Regions from separate parts of the Homo sapiens genome. Here regions 2 and 3 are each linked to region 1. Evidence: promoter capture Hi-C in human tissues and cell types (Jung and others, 2019). All regions are on one chromosome and are shown on one strand. The core of a region is centred on a gene start or on the middle of the fragment in contact, and the rest is flanking DNA. Distances in the headings are between cores, read along the strand shown.

Region 1 (2,785 bases), core at 192-2,691:
TTATTTATGTGTATATGTATGTTTTATTTATGCATATATATACACACACATAATATATATACACAAATATTTTTAAAATATTATTTATATATTTACATATAAAGTATGTATGTATAAAATACGTGTATTTATATATAAATATTATATATATTTTAAAATAGAGACACATTCACTCTGTTGCCCAGGCTGTAGTGTAGTACAGTGATCATAGCTTACTGCAGTCTTGAACTCCTAGCCTGAAGCAATCTTTCCACTTCCCAAAGTGCTAGGATTACAGGCATGAGCCACTGTGGCCGGCCTGTCATTTGTTTTCATTTTAATTGAGCACATTTGACCTCAATTTATTACAATCTCTCTCTCCATTATTTAATTTAGAAAAGCTTCATGAAAGCTTTTTTTAGTTAAAATATATGTAACATAAGGCCGGGCGTAGTAGCTCACGCCTATAATCCCAGCACTTTGGGAGGCTGAGGCAGGTAGATCATCTGAGGTCAGGAGTTCGAGACCAGCCTGGCCAACATGGTGAAACCCCATATCTACTAAAAATACAAAAAATTAGCTGGGCATGGTGGCGGGTGCCTGTAATCCCAGCTACTTGGCAGGCTGACGCAGGAGAATCGCTTGAACCTGGGAGGCGGAGGTCTGCAGGCAGAGTGTTGAGTCACATGGTAACTATATATTTAACTTTCAGAAACTAATGATTTTCCACAGCAGCTGCACTACTTTACATTCCCACTAGCAAAGCACAAAGGTTCCAATTTCTCTACATCCTTGCCAACACTTGTTTTTTTAAATTTTTTTATTTTTTGAGATGGAGTTTCACTCTTGCTGTCCAGGCTGGAGTGCAATGGCACAGTCTTGGCTCACTGCAACCTCCAGTGCCCGGGTTCAAGCGAGTCTCCTGCTTCAGCCTCCCTAGTAGCTGGGATTACAGGCACCCCCCATCCCACCATGCCCAGCTAATTTTTTGTATTTTTAGTAGAGATGGGGTTTCCCTATATTGGCCAGCTGGTCTCAAACTCCTGACCTCAGGTGATCCACCCACCTCGGCCTCCCAAAGTGCTGGGATTACAGGCGTGAGCCACCACATCCAGCCTCTAGTGGCTGTTTCTATATCCTTTGAGAAACATTTATTTTTTTGATTCCAAAGTCAGAATTAGATATATCTAATATATGTATTAGATATATGTATATCTATATTATATACATAACTTTCTATTGCTGTTTTTTAATTGTTCCTTTATTGTAATTGAGACGAGGTCTCACCGTGTTGCCTAGGCTGGTCCCAAACTCATGGGTTCAGGTGATCCACCCACCTCGGCCTCCCAAAATGCTGGAATACAGGCATGCACCACTGTGCCCGGCCCGCTTTTCTGTGGCTTCTACTTCAGATGCACTCTAGAGCTCATCCATTCCATTTTCTGCCTTCCCAGATTGGAACCAACCAGATGGCTGTGTGTGCCAAAGCACAGAACAAACCTTTCTATGTGGTTGCAGAAAGTTTCAAGTTTGTCCGGCTCTTTCCACTAAACCAGCAAGACGTCCCAGATAAGTTTAAGGCAAGAGTTTTACATATTTGAAGGGGTACTAAAGTCTAAACAGAAACCTTTGGAAATTGTAGTCCTAAGAATGTTCCAGTAATTTTTTCACTTCCTATTGCTACTTTCCCCAACACTTGGAATACAAAGATAAATTGGTGATTGGACTCACACATTTGTCCCTAGAACTTCAGTCTTTCAGTCTCTTTAAGTAGCACCATAGATGGGTGGAGAGGAAGCCCGAAGCTGGTGGGTAAGTCCCAGCTTTGGGCTTAACTGAGCTCAGCTCCCATCACCACAACTTACAAACTGTGCGAGTTGAGGCAAGTCCTTTCATTTCAACCTCTGAACCGGTTTTCTTGTCTGTAAAATGGCATAGCAGTATCTGACAGGGTCATGAGGATTCTAAGATAATCTTAGCACAGTCCCTGGCACGCTGCAAGCTCTCTATTGTGACTCTCGATCTTCCCTTGAGAGGTCTGGAGAAGTTAATCCGGCATGAGAATGAGGGGACATGGGATTTAAGTTTGTTACACTACAGCTCTCAGCCAGCACACTGCCATGATCTGGCTCATGGCCACAACTCTGCCCTCGTCTCTAGTGTCCTGCATAGCTTAGTTTCTCCCATTTTCAGAGAGCAGTCTCAGGAAGTAGCACACTGATCACTCACACCAAGGCCCTACCAGGTCAGAGCACTAAATATTCAGTGCCGACTAATGTGTACTTCTCTCCTCAGTATAAGGCAGACACTCTCAAGGTCGCGCAGACTGGACAAGACCTCAAAGAGGAGCATCCGTGGGTCGACTACACTGCCCCTTCCTTAATCACTCTGCTGTTTACAGACCTGGGCGTGCTGACACCCTCAGCAGTCAGCGATGAGCTCATCAAGCTCTATCTGTAACCTGTGAGCCCTTTCCTGCCAAGGTGCAGCTTACGTAGTTGAGGCAGGGTGAGTAGCTGCTTGACACCCCAGTGAGTCAGGCCAAAACTGAGATGTGTTTAATGAAGATTTATGGAGTAAGGACTTAAAATCATACATCTTGGAGAACCTTTCTTACTCATTTCAGTCCCATCTAAAAATGTGTCAGCTATTCTAAATCCCAACTTAAATTGTTCTTACGGTTTCTAGAAACTTTCCTTTTCAGTTTCCAGAAATACAAGTTAGATAATTGGCTACTTAACTGATGAAAGATGAGCCCAAGTCCACCTGTCTTCATCCTCCCCTGCACTCCAGACTGATCTGCCTA
Region 2 (2,785 bases), core at 75-2,574, 870 kb after region 1:
CTCATCCAGTCCTTGCCATCCTTAACTCATAATCTTCCAAGAAGCCCTCCTTTGACAGCTAGACTAGCATACACCTTGAGGACCTTCAGGCTGAAATAACCTAGTTGCACATCCTGTTACAAATGGACTGTAAGCTTCTTCAGGCAGAGTAGCCAGACACAAATCACCCAGGTGGGGAAACTCTGTTAATTCATGCCTCCTCCTCCCCAGGACTCCTCTCCCCCAGTACAAACTCACCAAATGAAAAGGATGGGGAAGAAAGCTTACCAAATGTCAAACTGTTATTACAATGCATAAAAGTATAGTGAGTAAAAGTCATTCTGTGGCTACCAACACTTGCCTCCACAATAAAGGACTCGAAGTGGGTAATCGGCATCTAACTTGGCACTGTTCCTTGGGTCTCCTTTGCAGTCAGCCCCGCTGGATTCAGAAATGTCAGCAGCCATTTCACAAACCTGTAAGCAAGGAAAATAACACACCCTCACTATTTTAGAATCAAGACCCCAGAAGAGCAGTGTTCCTCTCAACAGAAACCTCCCCACCCCAAAGCTGTTTCAAGTCTGTTGTTGAGTGGGGGATACAAGCTGCATTCGATTCATAAAATATGAGCAATCCCAGGCACAACATCTCCTTGCTCCACAGGTCTACAGGGAAGCAAGCAGCAAATGGACCATGAAGGATGGGGCAGAGGGACTCACTAGAGAAAAACAGGAAGCAATGGGGAAGGAAAGATGGGGTGAGTACCCACGGCAGACACGGAGCAAAAAGGTCTGAGGGTGATCTGGGAGGGATGCAAACTGCAGTGAGAGAAGGGCTACAAAGGCGCCGAATGGAGAGAGGCTGGAAGTGCCTAGGAACAAGGGGTGGGTCATCGGAGAAGCCCGGGGTGCAGGGTGTGGGGGCAACTAAACGCCATGAGAGGGGCCTGGGGAGTCTAAAAAGGGCATGGGAGGGGGCGGGGTAACCAGAGCGTAAGAAGGATGAGGAGAGAAAACGAGCGCAGAATGTAAGAGCACTGAGGGGACAAGGGCGACCAGGTCTGAGGCGAAGGAGCAACCCCGGGGACGCCAGAAGGGGCCCTTGTGGGCGGGGGTGTGGAGAGGCCCGGCCCGGCCCCCTTCCGCCAGGCAGCATCTCAGCTTCCCCCACACTCTCTACGAGCTTCTCGGGAGCGGGAGAAGCACTTGGGGTCGTTACCCAGGCGGTCGCACAGGCCCCGCCGGCTCCGCTCCCGCCGCTATCGCCAGCTGAACCAACACATGCAACTCGTCTCCCCGGCCAGGGCCGCCCGAGCGCCCGACCGCCAGCAGCGCTCCCGCGAGACAATGAGCCTTTATCGCGAGATTCCGGCCGCCGCTGGGCGGATGTCGCGAGAAGCCGGAAGACGGGGGCGGAGAAAAATTGCGGAGCGTGCGCCTTGCCCTCCGGTGGGGGGCGTGGCCAAGAGGCCGAGAGGCGGGCCGCCGGCAGGCGGTGCTCGTCACCCGTTGGAGAGGATGAATCCTCGAGATGGGCGTGCCGAAGGGAACGTGACTTGCAGACGCAGAGAGCGCACCTGAGTCACAAATGACTCCCTATTAATGAGTCCGAGGATCATCGCCTCGGTGTCTGCGGTGCATCCTGGAGTCCTGACTAACCTCCAGCTACTGCATAAATCACTCCCGTGCGGGGAGATTGCAGCCGGATAGAGCGTTTGGTCGCATTTTAACACCATGCACTGAATTAAAGGAAGGTGTTCTCCCTCCCTCCCTCCCTCCCTTCCTTCTTTCCTTCCTCTCTTCTTTTCTCTCTCTCTTCGCCGGATGGAGCGTTTGGTTGCGTTTTAACACCATACACTAAATTAAAGGAATTCTTTTTTCTTTCTTTTCTGTTCTTTCTTTTCTTTCTTCTTTCTCTTCTTTCTGTCTCTTTCTTCCCCTTCCCTCCCTCCCTCCCTTCCTTCCTTCTTTCCTTCCTTCCTCCCTCCCTTCCTTCCTTCCTCCCTCCCTTCCTTCATCCTTTTCTTTATGTTTTGACAGGGTCTCACTCTGTCACCTAGGCTGGATGGAGTGCAGTTGCACAAACACGGTTCACTGCAGCCTCGACCTCCCAAGTAGTTGGGAATACAGGCGCGCGTTACCACACCCAGCTAATTTTTAATTTGTTTATAGAGGTGGGGGAATCTCCCTATGCTGTCCAGGCTGGTCTCGAACTCCCGGACTCAAGGGATCCTCCCGCCTCCGCCTCCCAAAGTGCTGGGATTACAGGCGTGAGCCACCGCGCCCGGCCTACAATTTTTTTTAATGAAAAAAAGAAAAATGTAAGAGTATGGGAATATATGGGGAAAAGAAAGATCAGATTGTTACTGTGTCTGTGTAGAAAGAAGTAGACATAAGAGACTCCATTTTGTTCTGTGCTAAGAAAAATTCTTCTGCCTTGAGATGCTGTTAATCTGTAACCCTACCACCAACCCTGTGCTTCCTGAGACCTGTGCTGTGTCAACTGAGGGTTAAATGGATTAAGGGCTGTGCAGGATGTGCTTTGTTAAACAAATGCTTGAAGGCAGCATGCGCCTTAAGAATCATCACCACTCCCTAATCTCAAGTACCCAGAGACACAATACACTGCAGAAGGCCGCAGGGACCTCTTCCTAGGAAAGCCAGGTATTGTCCAAGGTTTCTCCTCATGTGATAGTCTGAAATATGGCCTCGTGGGAAGGGAAAGACCTGACCATTCCACAGCCCGACACCTGTAAAGGGTCTGTGCTCAGGAGGATTAGTAAAAGAGGAAGGAACACCTCTGTGCA
Region 3 (2,785 bases), core at 143-2,642, 650 kb after region 1:
GTTACCAGGTGGGGCCTCCCATCCTCCTGAGGCCACTGTACAGATGAAGAAACTGAAGCCCAGAACGCCAGACAGGGCCCAGGCTGGAAGCCAAGTCTAGCCTACACTCCTGAATCTATCTGGGTCAACTGCAAGTTCCAGACTGTTAGCTGAAAGGGACTTCTAGAAGGGGACCCATCCTGTTTCAGGCTGCCCCAACCTGAGCCTAGCTGGGATGAGAACCCCTAGATGTACCTCAACCATCTGGGCCCACACAGGGACAGGAGACAGTCATGGCCAAGTCCTGTGTTCCAGAGGTTGCTGAGGACTCTCCTGGGAAGCTTCCCACCACTGACTCCAGGGGAAGGAGGAGGAGGGAGTGGGGCAGCAGCCCTGGCAGCAGCCTGCGGGGTATATGGTAAGGTGTGAGGAGCCCAGGGGCCTGGAAGCTGTGGCTGGGATCACATCTGCTCCTGCTGTAAAAGCTTGGGCAAGGGATCCCTCTTTAAGCCTCAGCTTCTCAATCCAAAATGAGAGTGGTGCTTGTGCTTATCTCACAGAGCTGTTAAGAACGGCATGACTAGGCAACTTAGCAACTTAGCATTTCCCCTTCTCTCTCCTGGTGCCAAGACTCAGGTGTGGAGGGATGAGTGGGGGGCAGGAAGGAGGAAAGTGAGGGCCTAAGTGACCCTTCAGGGATCAGGGACTGAGGCTAGGCTCAAGCTGTGTCCTCAAGCTGCGGACACAAATCTAACGAGGAGGAGCTGTGCAGGGGCAGGGGACTGGTACCTCTGCTAACAGCTGCTGGAAGTCCTTGGCGCTAACACAGCCTCGGCTGCGCAGGATCTGGGAGCAGAAAGAACACTGAGCATGACTGTATGACCTGAGGAAATCCCTTCACTCTCTAAGCCTCAGTTTCCCCTGCTTAAAATGGGGAGAGGAGCCCCGACCTCAAAGGATCATGGAGAGAATGAACTGCGGAACCCTGTCAAGCTCAGGACAGGGCTCCGGGCTGGTGTTGCTGTGAGGCGGCAAGCTGAGCCCGGCCCTGTCCTAAGCACCCTACATGCTTGTTCATTCCTTCCTCACAATCTCACAGGGAGATACTATTACCCCTTTACGGTGAGAAAACCGAGGCAGAGAGAGGCCGTCATTCTTGTATTTGAAGATACGGTGCGCGGCGTGCGCAAAGCAAACGACCCTGGGGACGAACTTCCCTCCTCCACTACCCCTCTCTGCCCACTGCTCCGTAGGGACGACAGCGGCCACTCACCGGGCCGTAGTCCCGGCGCAGCTGCTGCTCGCCTCGGAAGCGCACGTGCAGCCCATAGCGCGCCACGTACAAGTTATCGGTGCAGAAGCAGGCGCAGCGGCAGAAGTGCCGCGGAGCCCCCACCGTCGCCATAGTGAAGCACCCACAGCCCTACCAGCTTCCGTAGAGAGACTTCGGGCACGCCCCCAACCGCGGGAGGCGCGGAACCAGCGGCCAAGGGGCCGCTCTAAGTTCCCAAGGGCGGAAAAGGACGAAGACGCACCTCGCCAGGAAACGGTCTGCGGAGAAAGATGCTCCTGGGCCGGGTTGGGACCGGCGGCCTCCTCGTTCCGCCTCCCAGTTTTCCCACTACGAGGCAGGGACTAATGGCTCCACTTTACAGACAGCTGAACTGGGTCGTGCCTTCACAGGACGGGGAGAGGAAGGGACTCGGAGCCCCAAGGCCTTTGACTTAAACGCCGACCCACCCCCCGCCGTCTGCCCGGAGCTCGTGGAGAACCAGCCGAGCTGAGGACAGTTTAAAGAGCTCGGAGGTCCGACTAGTTCCCGCTGGTGCTTCAATCATCCAGCCCTGTACGTTTCAGTTTGGATTTAGCATCTACCCCGGGTCCCTGCCTGGCGCTTCCGGTCCCTCCGCCACAGTCTGTTGGATTACCTCAGATTGCCCCAGTGAGTGTCTCCACCAAAACGCTCCGTCTCGCATTACTTCCGGTGGCGTTCCCAATGGACGCGGGAGGGCGGGGTCAGGTGTGGGAGGGCGACGGGGCGTGGTCTCACCGCAGCCAACAAATGACAACTCTTGCAGACCGAGCCTCTTCTCTCCCCGGACCTTTGCTCAGGAATCTACCAGCATTAAACCTTTGAGCTAGGTACTATTATATCACCGTCTTACAGATGAGGAAACTGAGACCCAGAGAGGCACAGGGACCCGCCGCAGGTCACACATCCAGTAAGGGGCAAATATGGCGTTTGAACCCTACAGAGTTCCCCAGTTAACCACCACAGGGCTTCTGGGAGTGGTGGAAGTATGTGGGATTTGGGGTTTTCTCGTGCAGAGCTGCCCGGCCCGAGAAGGTGTTTAACGTTTTACAGTCGTCTTGATTGCCCAGTGATAGTGAGAGGCCCTGCTATCTAGGAAAGGATCCATTTCCCCAGATCAATGTTCATTACCCGCCTAACTGCCCTTTTTCCCCAGGAGGCCCAGGGCAGGTCGGCTCCCCAGCCACCCACCAGGCAGGCCTGGCACATGCAGCACCCCACCCCACCCTCACCCCCTCTCCGTTTGCAGCAGTTTGCAAGATGAGTGTGTTGTACCTATCAGTTTATTTATTTGTTTATTTACTTTTTGAGATAGAGTTTCACCCAGGCTGGAGTGCAGTGGCGCGATCTCCGCTCACTGCAACCTCTGCCTCCCGGATTCAAGCAGTTTTCCTGCCTCAGCCTCCCGAATAGCTGGGATTATCGGCAGGCGCCACCACGCCCAGCTAATTTTTTTGTTTTTTGTTTGTTTGTTTGTTTGTTTTGAGACGGAGT

What was found. The method cuts DNA at HindIII sites, captures the fragments that hold promoters and counts their contacts. A contact is called where the count stands out against the background at its distance.
Region 2: the fragment with the promoter of DENR here is called in contact with a fragment that was not itself captured in region 1 in 3 of the 25 tissues and cell types used here (bladder, dorsolateral prefrontal cortex and heart left ventricle).
Region 3: a contact is called between the fragment with the promoter of OGFOD2 here and a fragment that was not itself captured in region 1, in 3 of the 25 tissues and cell types used here (IMR-90 fibroblasts, dorsolateral prefrontal cortex and lymphoblastoid cells).

Annotation. Positions count from the first base shown.
Region 1 is chr12:123,621,410-123,624,194 of GRCh38, reverse strand. EIF2B1 (eukaryotic translation initiation factor 2B subunit alpha) reads left to right here. Exons shown (of 9, transcript NM_001414.4): 8 at 1,434-1,559; 9 at 2,275-2,785. The coding sequence ends at 2,439. Among named protein-coding and RNA genes, the nearest start is that of SNORA9B, 6.1 kb to the right of the region's middle. RefSeq lists an enhancer at 1,619-2,785. The HindIII fragment of the contact is 7,939 bases long and covers 1-2,785 here.
Region 2 is chr12:122,751,363-122,754,147 of GRCh38, reverse strand. DENR (density regulated re-initiation and release factor) reads right to left here and starts at 1,324. Exons shown (of 8, transcript NM_003677.5): 1 at 1,198-1,324; 2 at 341-455. The coding sequence starts at 446. RefSeq lists enhancers at 816-875, 1,967-2,785 and a silencer at 1,016-1,065. The HindIII fragment of the contact is 19,306 bases long and covers 1-2,785 here.
Region 3 is chr12:122,973,851-122,976,635 of GRCh38, reverse strand. It overlaps OGFOD2 (2-oxoglutarate and iron dependent oxygenase domain containing 2), which reads right to left and starts at 1,392. Exons shown (of 7, transcript NM_001304833.2): 1 at 1,253-1,392; 2 at 769-825. The coding sequence starts at 1,384. It also overlaps a transcript of ABCB9 not described here. RefSeq lists an enhancer at 1,488-1,947. The HindIII fragment of the contact is 12,569 bases long and covers 1-2,785 here.